Linked DNA regions of Homo sapiens: region 2 is linked to region 1. Evidence: promoter capture Hi-C in 16 types of primary human blood cells and fetal thymus (Javierre and others, 2016). All regions are on one chromosome and are shown on one strand. Each heading gives the region's core, a stretch centred on a gene start or on the middle of the fragment in contact. The rest is flanking DNA. Distances are from core to core; before and after follow the strand shown.

Evidence for each region. The method cuts DNA at HindIII sites, captures the fragments that hold promoters and counts their contacts. A CHiCAGO score of 5 or more calls a contact.
Region 2: a contact is called between a fragment that was not itself captured here and the fragment with the promoter of PLCB1 in region 1, in 1 of 17 cell types (megakaryocytes). The highest score is 6.0, in megakaryocytes.

The regions. Positions count from the first base shown.
Region 1 is chr20:8,129,423-8,134,273 of GRCh38, forward strand. PLCB1 (phospholipase C beta 1) reads left to right here and starts at 2,844. Exons shown (of 32, transcript NM_015192.4): 1 at 2,844-3,328. The coding sequence starts at 3,230. RefSeq lists a silencer at 2,930-3,069. The HindIII fragment of the contact is 1,963 bases long and covers 1,534-3,496 here.
Region 2 is chr20:8,707,660-8,713,039 of GRCh38, forward strand. PLCB1 (phospholipase C beta 1) reads left to right here. Exons shown (of 32, transcript NM_015192.4): 12 at 1,011-1,093. Among named protein-coding and RNA genes, the nearest start is that of RNU105B, 120 kb to the right of the region's middle. The HindIII fragment of the contact is 3,515 bases long and covers 545-4,059 here.

The DNA.
Region 1 (4,851 bases), core at 1,594-4,093:
TTTACGTCCACGTTCACAGCAACAGCTGGGAGGAATCAGGGATGCTAGATGAAATACTCAACTATCCATTGCCAATAATGGTGGTTACCAAATGACTCCCAACTCAGTGCCATTCAACAATGAACGTTTATTGTCATGTTCATGAGTCTGCAGGTTGGCTGAGTCTGGGAGATCTAGGATGGTTTCTACTGGACTTGCTTCCAAGCTGTAAATGGGGCTTAGGTCTGTCCTGATTGTCTCCTTAGATCAGAGGCTCCCTGAGGCATGTTTATCTCATGGAAATGATAAGAAACCCAAGAGGGAAAGCCCAACCTCAAAGCATATTTTGAGCCTTTGCTAATATCACATCTTCAAACATGCCATTGGCCAAAGCAAGTCACATTGTCCAACATCAATGGGATGGATAAATAAACAGGGTGTCTAGTAAAAACTGTAAGGTCACAAAGAAAAATGTGTGGACGCAGAAAGGAGCAGGGAGCAGAGAGCTATGATGCAATAAACTACCACAGGAGGCTCAATCTACTTCTTATTTTGCTTAGAGCTCATTGTAACTCTCCAATCTCCTCTTCTAGTGAGCGCAGCCCTGTCTTGCCTTCCTAAGCCACTGTGACAGGTAAAAACTATTTGGCCAATAATCTTTCCAGTAAATAACAAAGAGATAGAAGGAGAAAAGGAAAAGAAAGGAAAGGAAAGGAGGAAAGGAAAGGAAAGGAAAGGAAAGGAAAACAATTTGGTATGATCAGTTGTAAGGACAATTGAGAAGTTCTGGAGCCCTGGAAGCAGAGTTTCATTGCAGTACTCTGAAGTAGAGAAAATCGACTTGAGACGGTGACTGATACCTTCTGTGAGGTAATTAGCAAGCCAAGGCTGCTGGCTAGAGGGACTGTGGACCATTCAGGTTTTAGTTTAGGGACATGTGATCAAAATGAAACCAGTCAGTTTTTCATGAAATTCTTTGTAGCAATTGGCTTCCAAGCACAAGGCAAGACCCTCAAATGACAGCAAGAGTCATGGGTCTTGTTCACCAGGTTATCCATGGTGATTACAATAGTGGCTAGTATACAGCTGGCTACCAATAAGTATATTTTAAATGCATTGAAATATTTAATAGCAAATTTCTGTATTGGATTTTGGTAATCTTTTGACTGAGTTCATAAGCATTGGGCCTTGGAGTCCTGAGGGCAGAGAACAGGGAGAATGAAGGATTAAGAGAATGTAGTGTTTCTCTCCATTTTTCTCTCTTCGTATTCTTTCTTCTTTTTAAAAATCAACCTTTTTGAGATATAATTTATTTAAAACAAACTGCACTCAATTTAGGCGTACTTACAGAACTTACAAGTTTTGATAAACACACACACGATATAGAACATTTCCGACATGCTCATCAGGTGCTCGTAGCCCTTCCCTGTCCATCTCTACCTATCCCTGGCCACAGGCAAGCTTTCTGTCAACATAGAATATCTTGCCTATTCTGCAATTCCTACACATGGAATCAGGCAGCATACAGTCTATCGTGTCCGGCTTCTTTTACAAAGCTTAAAGTCGCGATTCATCCCTGATCTTGCATGCCCACTCATTTTTATTGTGGAATAGTATTCCAATATTTGGGCATACCACAGTTTGTTTATCCATTCACCTGTTGATTGACATTTGCAGGCTACTAAGAAGAAAGTTCTTCACATCACTTTACAAGTCCCTGCAGACTTGAACGTTTTCATTTCTTTTGGACAAATACTTAGGAGTGGAATTTCTAGGTTGTATGATAAGTAAATATCTTACTTTATAAGAAACTATTCTCCAAAGTGGTTTTACTATTTTATATTCCCTCCAGCAATGAACAAGAGTTCCAAGCTATTTCTCTCTCCGCCCCCCCACCTCCCGCGTGTGTCTCTCTCTCTCTCTCTTTCTCTCTCTCACACTCACTCACTCTCTCTCTCCCTCTCCTCTCTCTCCTTAATAAAAAAAAAAAAAGAGTTCCAGTTGCTCCACATCCTTTCAAGCATTTGGTATTACCAGTCTTTAAAATTTTATCCATTCTGGTCCTCCTCTTTCCCTTCTTCCCTCCCTCCCTCCCTTTCTTTCTTGAATTGAGAAATGTTTGTGGAAGGAGTGAAGACAAACATTCCTGGACCTATGTTCCTAAATGAGCAAGTTTCTATTAATAAGACTCTCCCCCACCCGCCACACATCCTACACACTCAAGGAGAGGAGCGGGAGAGGGCACCCTCTTTCTTCCTCGGAAAATAAAACCTTTGCTTTCTTTAGGATGGGCTTTCTGTCTCGAAAGCACAACGTAACCGTTTGCCCGGGTTTCAAGATCAGCGCGCTGCAAACTCTCAGGCGCGGCCAGGTTTCCTCAAAGAGCCTCTCAACTGCGCTCTTCTCTGCTGATAAATGATAATTCTCTTCAAAAAGCTGGTTTGTGGCTGGCGCTGGAGAGCTCCAGCTAGAGCCAAAAGCCAGGGGTTGCCTCTTTGGTTCCTCCCGATGGGCCCCTTTTCCCAGCCAGTTGGGATCCAAAGACGCTCCGGAGCTCGAGCCCAAATTCCCAAGAAAACCCCAAAGAGCGTAAGGCTCCTGGGGACCCCTAGCACCTCTGCAACCAGGGCACGGGGCATGCTCAGAGCGAATGCGGGAGGCAGGCGTTGGCTGCAATGGGGCTCGGGAGCCAGGAGGTGCCGCTGCGTCCCCGCTTCCTGGCGCCTGACCCAGCGTGCAAAGTTGGGCTGGGAGCCGCGGGGGGAAGGAAGGACCCAGCGAGCGAGGGTGGCGGGGAAGGGGGGCGGGGGGGAGGAGGAGGGAGGAGGGAAAAGAGCGGTTAGGGGGGGCGCCGGGCGTGTGTCACTCGCTCTCTCCCTCTGTGTATAGAGGATGTGCTGAATGGTGCGCTTTGAGGCGGCGGCGGCGGAGGAGCAGAATCCGCCGCGACTGGCAGCCTCGGCTGACCGGCTCGGCTTCTCTTCGCCTTCCGAGGCTCCTCATCCACCGCGGGCTCCAGACCTCGCGTCCCGCCCGGGGCATGGCCGGGCGCTGCGCCCCCGCGCGCTCTGCCTGCTGAGCGGCGCCGGAGGGAGGTGCGGAGGCCGGGAGGCCGGGGAGGCCGGCGGGGAGCAGAGTCGAGCGCCTCCGGAGCAGAGAAAGGAGCCCGCGCCCCGCGCCCCGCGCCCCGCGCACGGTCCCCAGTCCCTGCCGCGCTCGCCCGGGCCGCCCGGAGCCCAGATGAGCCCAGATGGCCGGGGCTCAACCCGGAGTGCACGCCTTGCAACTCAAGCCCGTGTGCGTGTCCGACAGCCTCAAGAAGGGCACCAAATTCGTCAAGTGGGATGATGTAAGTATTGGGGCGGCCCGAGTCGGGGCGCTGGCTCGGGCACCGGGCAGGGCGGGCGTCGTGGGGGTGGGGCAAGGGGCGCGTTATGCAATGGGCGCACTGGGAGCGGGCAGGGGCAGCCTCGGGCGCACAGGTTGGCATCTGCCAAAGCGGATGTCCAAGGGCAGAAGCTTTGCGCGCGCTCCTGTTTCATCGGGCTTCAGTAGTTGCCATCCTTTCTGGGTCTGGCAGGCGCCCCCTGAGGGTCTTACATCTTTTGGGCCAGTGGAGAGGGAGGGGCAAGCTTTGCCTGGTGACAGGTCCTGAGAGTTCGGAAAGTAGGGAGTGTGAAGTTGGGACCAACTGGAAAGCGCCTGGTGTGAACAAATCGCGTCCCTCTCCGCCTGCGGACGCACCCCCTATTACCTCTTTTGCCCGATTTCAAGAAGGAAGGACCTGAAGTTCAAAACACTTTAGTGATTGCGAACCCTCTTGGCGCTTTTGTGGGAGCCAAGGCGGCGGAGGACACAACGGTCCAGCCAACAGGTGGTCGTTGATGCCAAACTTCAGCGCCTGGCTCCGGAGTGAGGGTCCCTGAAAAGGGCTGCGGGGACACATCTGGGGAGGGCGTGAACAGAATGGGGGCCCTTGAGGGGTCCTGGAGGGCTCATGGGCCTGCAGGCAAGTGGGGAGGGCTGACTTTTGAGAACTGAGCTGATTGGAGTCTTCTGCCTGAAATAGACAGGTTGAGAGTTTGCCCCACGATTTACCTGCACCGTTTGCCAGGTAGGGCAGAGCCTAGCCCAGCGCCGGGGTCTCTAATGCTTTACGAGCGGCCCAGACCCCAGGACTTCAAATGACTTCCCCTTCCCCTCTACCCCAGTTGTCTTCAAAACACGTAAATTAGTTATCCAGCTGAAAACATGCGAATCTTCGGATGGAGAACATTATGGTATCAGTTTTATGTCCTGGGTGTCATTCTAAAGGTTCGATAAGAAAAACCTACTGAAATAAACCCGAGTTGCCAGGCTCTAAGCAAATTTAAGTCCAAATGACTAATACATCTCTTAATCAGAAGGAATTATAGGAGAATGAGGCGTTCTTCTTGCCGAAAAGATTTTCCACCTAGTAAATTATAGCCTGTTATCCTCTAGGGTATTTTTCTTTAATCTTCTTAAGCCATTTTCCAGTGTCTGAAAACAATTTAAATATTCCAGGTAGTGAATCCAATTACTTAGCTGAGTGCGTCTGTGTCTATATTTTGTCCAGCTGGAAGCGCAAACGGAACTTGGAGTATGAACCACAGCTTCCTTGAAAGCTCGTGCCAATTATTAAATGCTGTAGGCAAGGATGTAAACATACATCTTTTTACCATGGGCTTCACACTTTTCTTCTTTCTGTTCCAGTCTAATTGTACTGAATGTTTCTGTAAATGGAATAGAATCTAAACAATAAATTCAGACGCAGATTAAATGCTTTGTGTCAGGGAAAAAAAAGACAAAGAAAATGCAGTTCAGCAATAAACAAGACGGTCTTGCCCATTT
Region 2 (5,380 bases), core at 1,052-3,551, 580 kb after region 1:
GAAAATCAATCAAGATATTAGGGAAAAAATGAAGCTGTTCTCTGTAGAATTATTTGAATGACAGCTCTGAAAATGTAGCTGTCCAACAGTTGGGGAATGGTTAAATCAATTTTAATACCTTTACTTTCTAGAATTTTGTACATATATTGAAACTTGTGACATATACATTTTTAAAAATGCAGATTGAAAATTGAAGTACTGATACATGTTACAACATGGATGAACTTTGAAACCATGCTAAGTGAAAGGTGGTCGGCACAAACAACCATATATTGTATGGTTACATTTATATGAAATAATTAGAATAGGCAAATCTATGAATACATAAAGTGATGAATGATTGCCTGGGACTAGGTGTGTGGGGTGGGGTGCAGGAATGAGGAGTGACTGCTAGTGGGTACATGGTTTCTTTTTGAGGCGATAAAAATGTTCTAACTTATATTGGGATGGTGCTCGCATGACTCTCTGAATATACTAAAAACCATTGAACTGTACACTTTCAATGGGCAGATTATATCTCAAAAAAGTCACATCTCAATAACAAAGCTTTTTAAAAATACAAGTTGAGTATATACTGTAATTAAAACTAAGCTACATAAATACATGAGAGACAGACTAGAAGTGAATATAATGAAATGCTAACAATGGTTTGGTTCAGAAAGTGGATTTGTGGGTGAAAATTTTTGCCTTCTCTTACTGTCCCAAATGTTTATAATATGATTAGATTTCTTTGATTATTAAAAAATAGATACAATTAGCAAACAGGAGAATCCTCTCCTTTGCATTTCTCTCTCCCCTCCACCAAAATCCAATCTTCTTATAACTTTCCAGAATCAAGAGTCAGAATTAGCACCGTCCAGCAGCCCTCAAAATCCCTTCTAGCCATTTCAGGCCATTCGATACAATTCTCTGAATGGAAAAGACAACTATATTAATAGATTTAATACCTTTCAAGAATATACAGATGAAAAATTCTGGCATACTGAATATACATGTGTTCTCATTTTTAGGAAGTGATAGAAGCAATTGCGGAGTGTGCATTTAAGACTTCACCTTTTCCAATTCTCCTTTCGTTTGAGAACCATGTGGATTCGTAAGTATTCAACACATTCAGGAATGAGTCTTTTTCCCGAATAGGGCATACTGAGTAATTGTTTATCAGATTTAAGATTATTTGACATGATTAATGGTGTTCTTCAATCATGTTGTATATTAACTGGCATGTTTTCATTTGTAGGTGATGGAATTCACTTAAAATAATCAACATTAAAATTATCCGTTGGACTTGTAGGATCTATTTTCATACCATAGTATGGTTTTTAAATTAAAAACTCTTCTTTTTGCAATGCAGTGGAACACATTTTTCTACACAATACATGTCTCTGTTATAGATTTGGGGTGCTGTGGGCCACTTTTATAACCCTTCTTCATTAGCTCCTTCTATTGCACACAATTTGAGTCCACTTCATCACTTTGTGGCAGGTGGGGGGAGAGCTGTGAATTCCATTTTACCAATTTGCACTTACACAGAACTCAGTTCAGCAAATCTCCATATTCCCCCTTTTCACTGGCTTTCCCCTGTTTGTTAATATTTGTATTTGCCAATTTCAAAATAGCCTGCATGTATTGCTGAGCTACACAAAGAAAAGGTTATTTTGACTTCACTGTTTTATATTCATTTTATCACACATTACCAAAGAGAGACACATTTATATCTAATAGATGTATATTAGTTTATCATGTAGTTACTTTAAAGAGCTTCAGAATGAAAGATTCTTATCCATATTGAATGAAAGCCTCTCTTTCATTTCAGGAACCTAAGCCAGATTTTTCAACTAAAAGCCAGCAGCACCTGTCCTAATTTGGATTACGAGTTTCTTTTTACCCTCCTTCCTATTGGGAGTCTTTCCCAGGTCACTGAGCCTCTTTGTCCAAGTAATTTGTAACATGTGCTTCAATTCTCTAATTCTTAAAGAGTTCACTAGATCTTAAAGATGCAGATTGGTCATGGGCAAATTTCAACTTGAAGAATTTCTAAGTAGTTAAATGTGACAATTTTATAATTATCTGTATTTTTTCAGTTTGCCCGCCAGAAATCCATATTATATTTACCGGCTTGTGGTTCTGCTTCATTATGCAACAATCATCCAATGAATGATGTAATCCTTTGGCACATAGTTTCTCCAACGCTTCTGAGGGTCAAAGGAAGAGAAAGGAATTTATTCTGTTCCATGCTATTTCTGTTCTTACTCAAAGGGGCATCTCTAGAAGCAGTATTTAATACCTAGTTTGCTTTGCAACTAGGTTCTGCTTTGCAATTGACTCTGTTAAACAATTTCTCATCTCTGTCAATTCATTTATAATTGGCCTGTAACAATACGTATGAGTCCATTCTTGTACTGCTATAAAGAAATGCCTGGGTAAGAGACTGGGTAATTTATGAAGAAAAGAGGTTTAATTGGCTCACAGTTCCACAGGCTGTACAGGAAGCATGGTGGCATCTGCTCCTGGGGAGTCCTCAGAGAGCTTTTTACTCACGGGAAGACAGAGTGGGAGCAGGTGTCTTACATGGCAGGAGGAGAACTAAGAGAGAGTGGGGAGGTGTCACACACTTTTAAACAACCAGATCTCATGAGAACTCACTATCGCAACAACAGTACCAAGGGGAATGGTGTTACACCATAAGAAATCTCCCCCATGATCCAATCACCTCCCACCAGGCCCCACTTCCAACATCGGGGGTTACAATTTGACATGAGATTTGGGCAGGGATGCAGATTCAAACCATATCACAATACTTGAGCACTTTTCTTTCAGGTATTATAGTTTCGACTTGAGGATGCTTTTTTTTTTTTTTTTTTTTTTTTTTTCTGAAGCGGAGTTTCACTCTTGTTGCCCAGGCTGGAGTGCCATGGCACAATCCTGGTTCACTGCAACCTCCATCTCCCGAGTTCAAGCAATTCTCCTGCCTCAGCCTTCCGAGTAGCTGGGATTACAGGCATGCACCACCATGCTCAGCTAATTTTGTATTTTTAGTAGACACGGGGATTCTCCATGTTGGTCAGGCTAGTCTCGAACTCCCGACCTCAGGTGATCCGCCCACCTCGGCCTCCCAAAGTGCTGGGATTGGCATACTTATGTTCTTAAAGAGAAGTTTCTATTTAAATTAGACAAAATGAAAGGCTATGGTTCCATTCTATATTGTCACACCTGCTACACTGAGCTTCCCCTTGGCATAGCCAGAAAAATATCAACCGCCACCACCACCACCAACATAATAGCTAACCTTTATTAATAGCGAACATTTATTAAACATTTTTTGTGCCAAGCAGTTTTTGAAATATTTTACATGCCTCAGCTCATGTAAGCCTTACCACAAACCCAGGTGCTTCTAAGAGTAAATATTATGATTATCGCCATTTTACAGATGATGGAACTGAGTCCTAAAGAGGATGAATAACTTGCTCAAGGCCATGTAACTAAAACATGACAGAGATGGGATTCCAATCCAGTTAGTGTGGCTTCAAAATGCACACTTTTAACCAACACATCTCCTACGCCTAAACAGAAGCATCAGGAGCCTTCAAAACATCAAATTCAGACAACGAGAGCATCCACCAGGCAATGGCCAGCAAATGTTTGCCTCTGTGGCTTGTAACCCTTAAACACAAGATGTGTTTTGCAGTTCTTCACACTAGTCATTTAGAGATCAAAAACTGGACATGAAAACTAATTTCTGCACTGTGCCTAAAGGCAAAGAGACTAGTGCCATTGTACTGCCCTTATGGGCTTAAAAATGATAAATTTAGCTATTAAAAGTTCATTAATAATTTCTATGTGACAAAAGAAAACAGGAAAACAGCCTTTCCAGGATGCCATGATTGTGTCCCAAGCCACTGAGATAATGTAATGGCAGTGAAATACTAAAAGATAAAATTCTATTGTGGAGGAAGTGGGTGGGAGTTGCTTGCTTCATATTTCCCTTGTCCTTCAGATATCAAAATTGTTCAGCCACCATTCTTTCCTGGGAGGCTAGCACACACCCAAAGAAAACCGATAAGCTTTCCCTTCGCTGGTAAAACCCCGTGCTTGACTTGTGAGCCACTTCATCTAGTTCCTGAGCCCATGGTAGGCAGTAGCAGCACTCTTTCCCACTAACCCTAGAAATAACCTCAGAATCCTTCTCAACACAGTGACCTCAGACTAGACCAGCAAGACATCTGACACCTATTTGCCATCTCTGATGAACTATTTTATTTCCCTGTGTGCTGCATGTATGGAATTTCAGATTCAGAACTCTGGTCCCAGCTCACTTGGGCCACACGTCCAAAACAAATTTATACTAGAAAAAAGGAGAAAAGGACAGGGCACGGTGGCTCACGCCTGTAATCCCAGCACTTTGGGAGGCCGAGACTGGTGGATCATGAGGTCAGGAGATCGAGACCATCCTGGCCAACATTGTGAAATCCAGTCTCTACTACAAATACAAAACAGGTGTTATGGCGGGTGCCTACAGTCCCAGTTACTCAGGAGGCTGAGGCAGGAGAATCGCTTGAACCTGGGAGGCAGAGGCTGCAGTGAGCTGAGATCACGCCACTGCACTCCAGCCTGGGTGACAGAGTGAGACTTTGTCTCAAAAAAACTAAATTAATTAAAAAAGAAAGAAAAAATGAGAAAAGCCACTGAAACTTCTGGTTTTCTCTCCCAATATCTGAAGTCACCTATCCATAGACAATAAAAGGGAATCTGCTATTAGCTGCTTTCAATGTATCCTGTTGCTACATCAGAATCCCATGAAGTGTCTTCAAAATGCAGATTCCTGAGCTACACCCTTACCCTGACTGAGAATTTCTAGAAATAAGACTTGAAAATATATTTTTAAAAGCCCTACTTGACTCTGACATCCTACTTGTGAACTAACACTTTTATAAAAAGAATTCTACACCAAATTCAATGGAAGTAATCTTTACCCATGTTCAGCCACAGAAAGCTGTGAAATTTTGAACAAGGTTCTTAATTTCCATGGATTGCAGATTCCTCCTTTATAGGGAAAGAGGTTGGTTTAGTTCAAACTGGAGGATTTGCTCCCAAGAAATCAAGTGAGTTCCTCGGTCAGAAAAACTGACCTCTGCCCCAGACGCTCACACCTTGGGAGTATTTTATTATGCTCAGAAATGTCTGCTATGACCTGAAGCTCAAAATGCATTTGTGATTTTTTTTCCCTCTCACTTTGTCCCCATGGTAGCTGATATTGATGCTCTAAACACTTCAGGATTTTGTTTTTTGCTAATTGCAATTTTAATGCCTTTTATTTCTGCAGTTCTGACCTGCAATTAAAGTTGGTTTGTTTTCCTCTGACTTTTTCAATTCAATTTGCTCT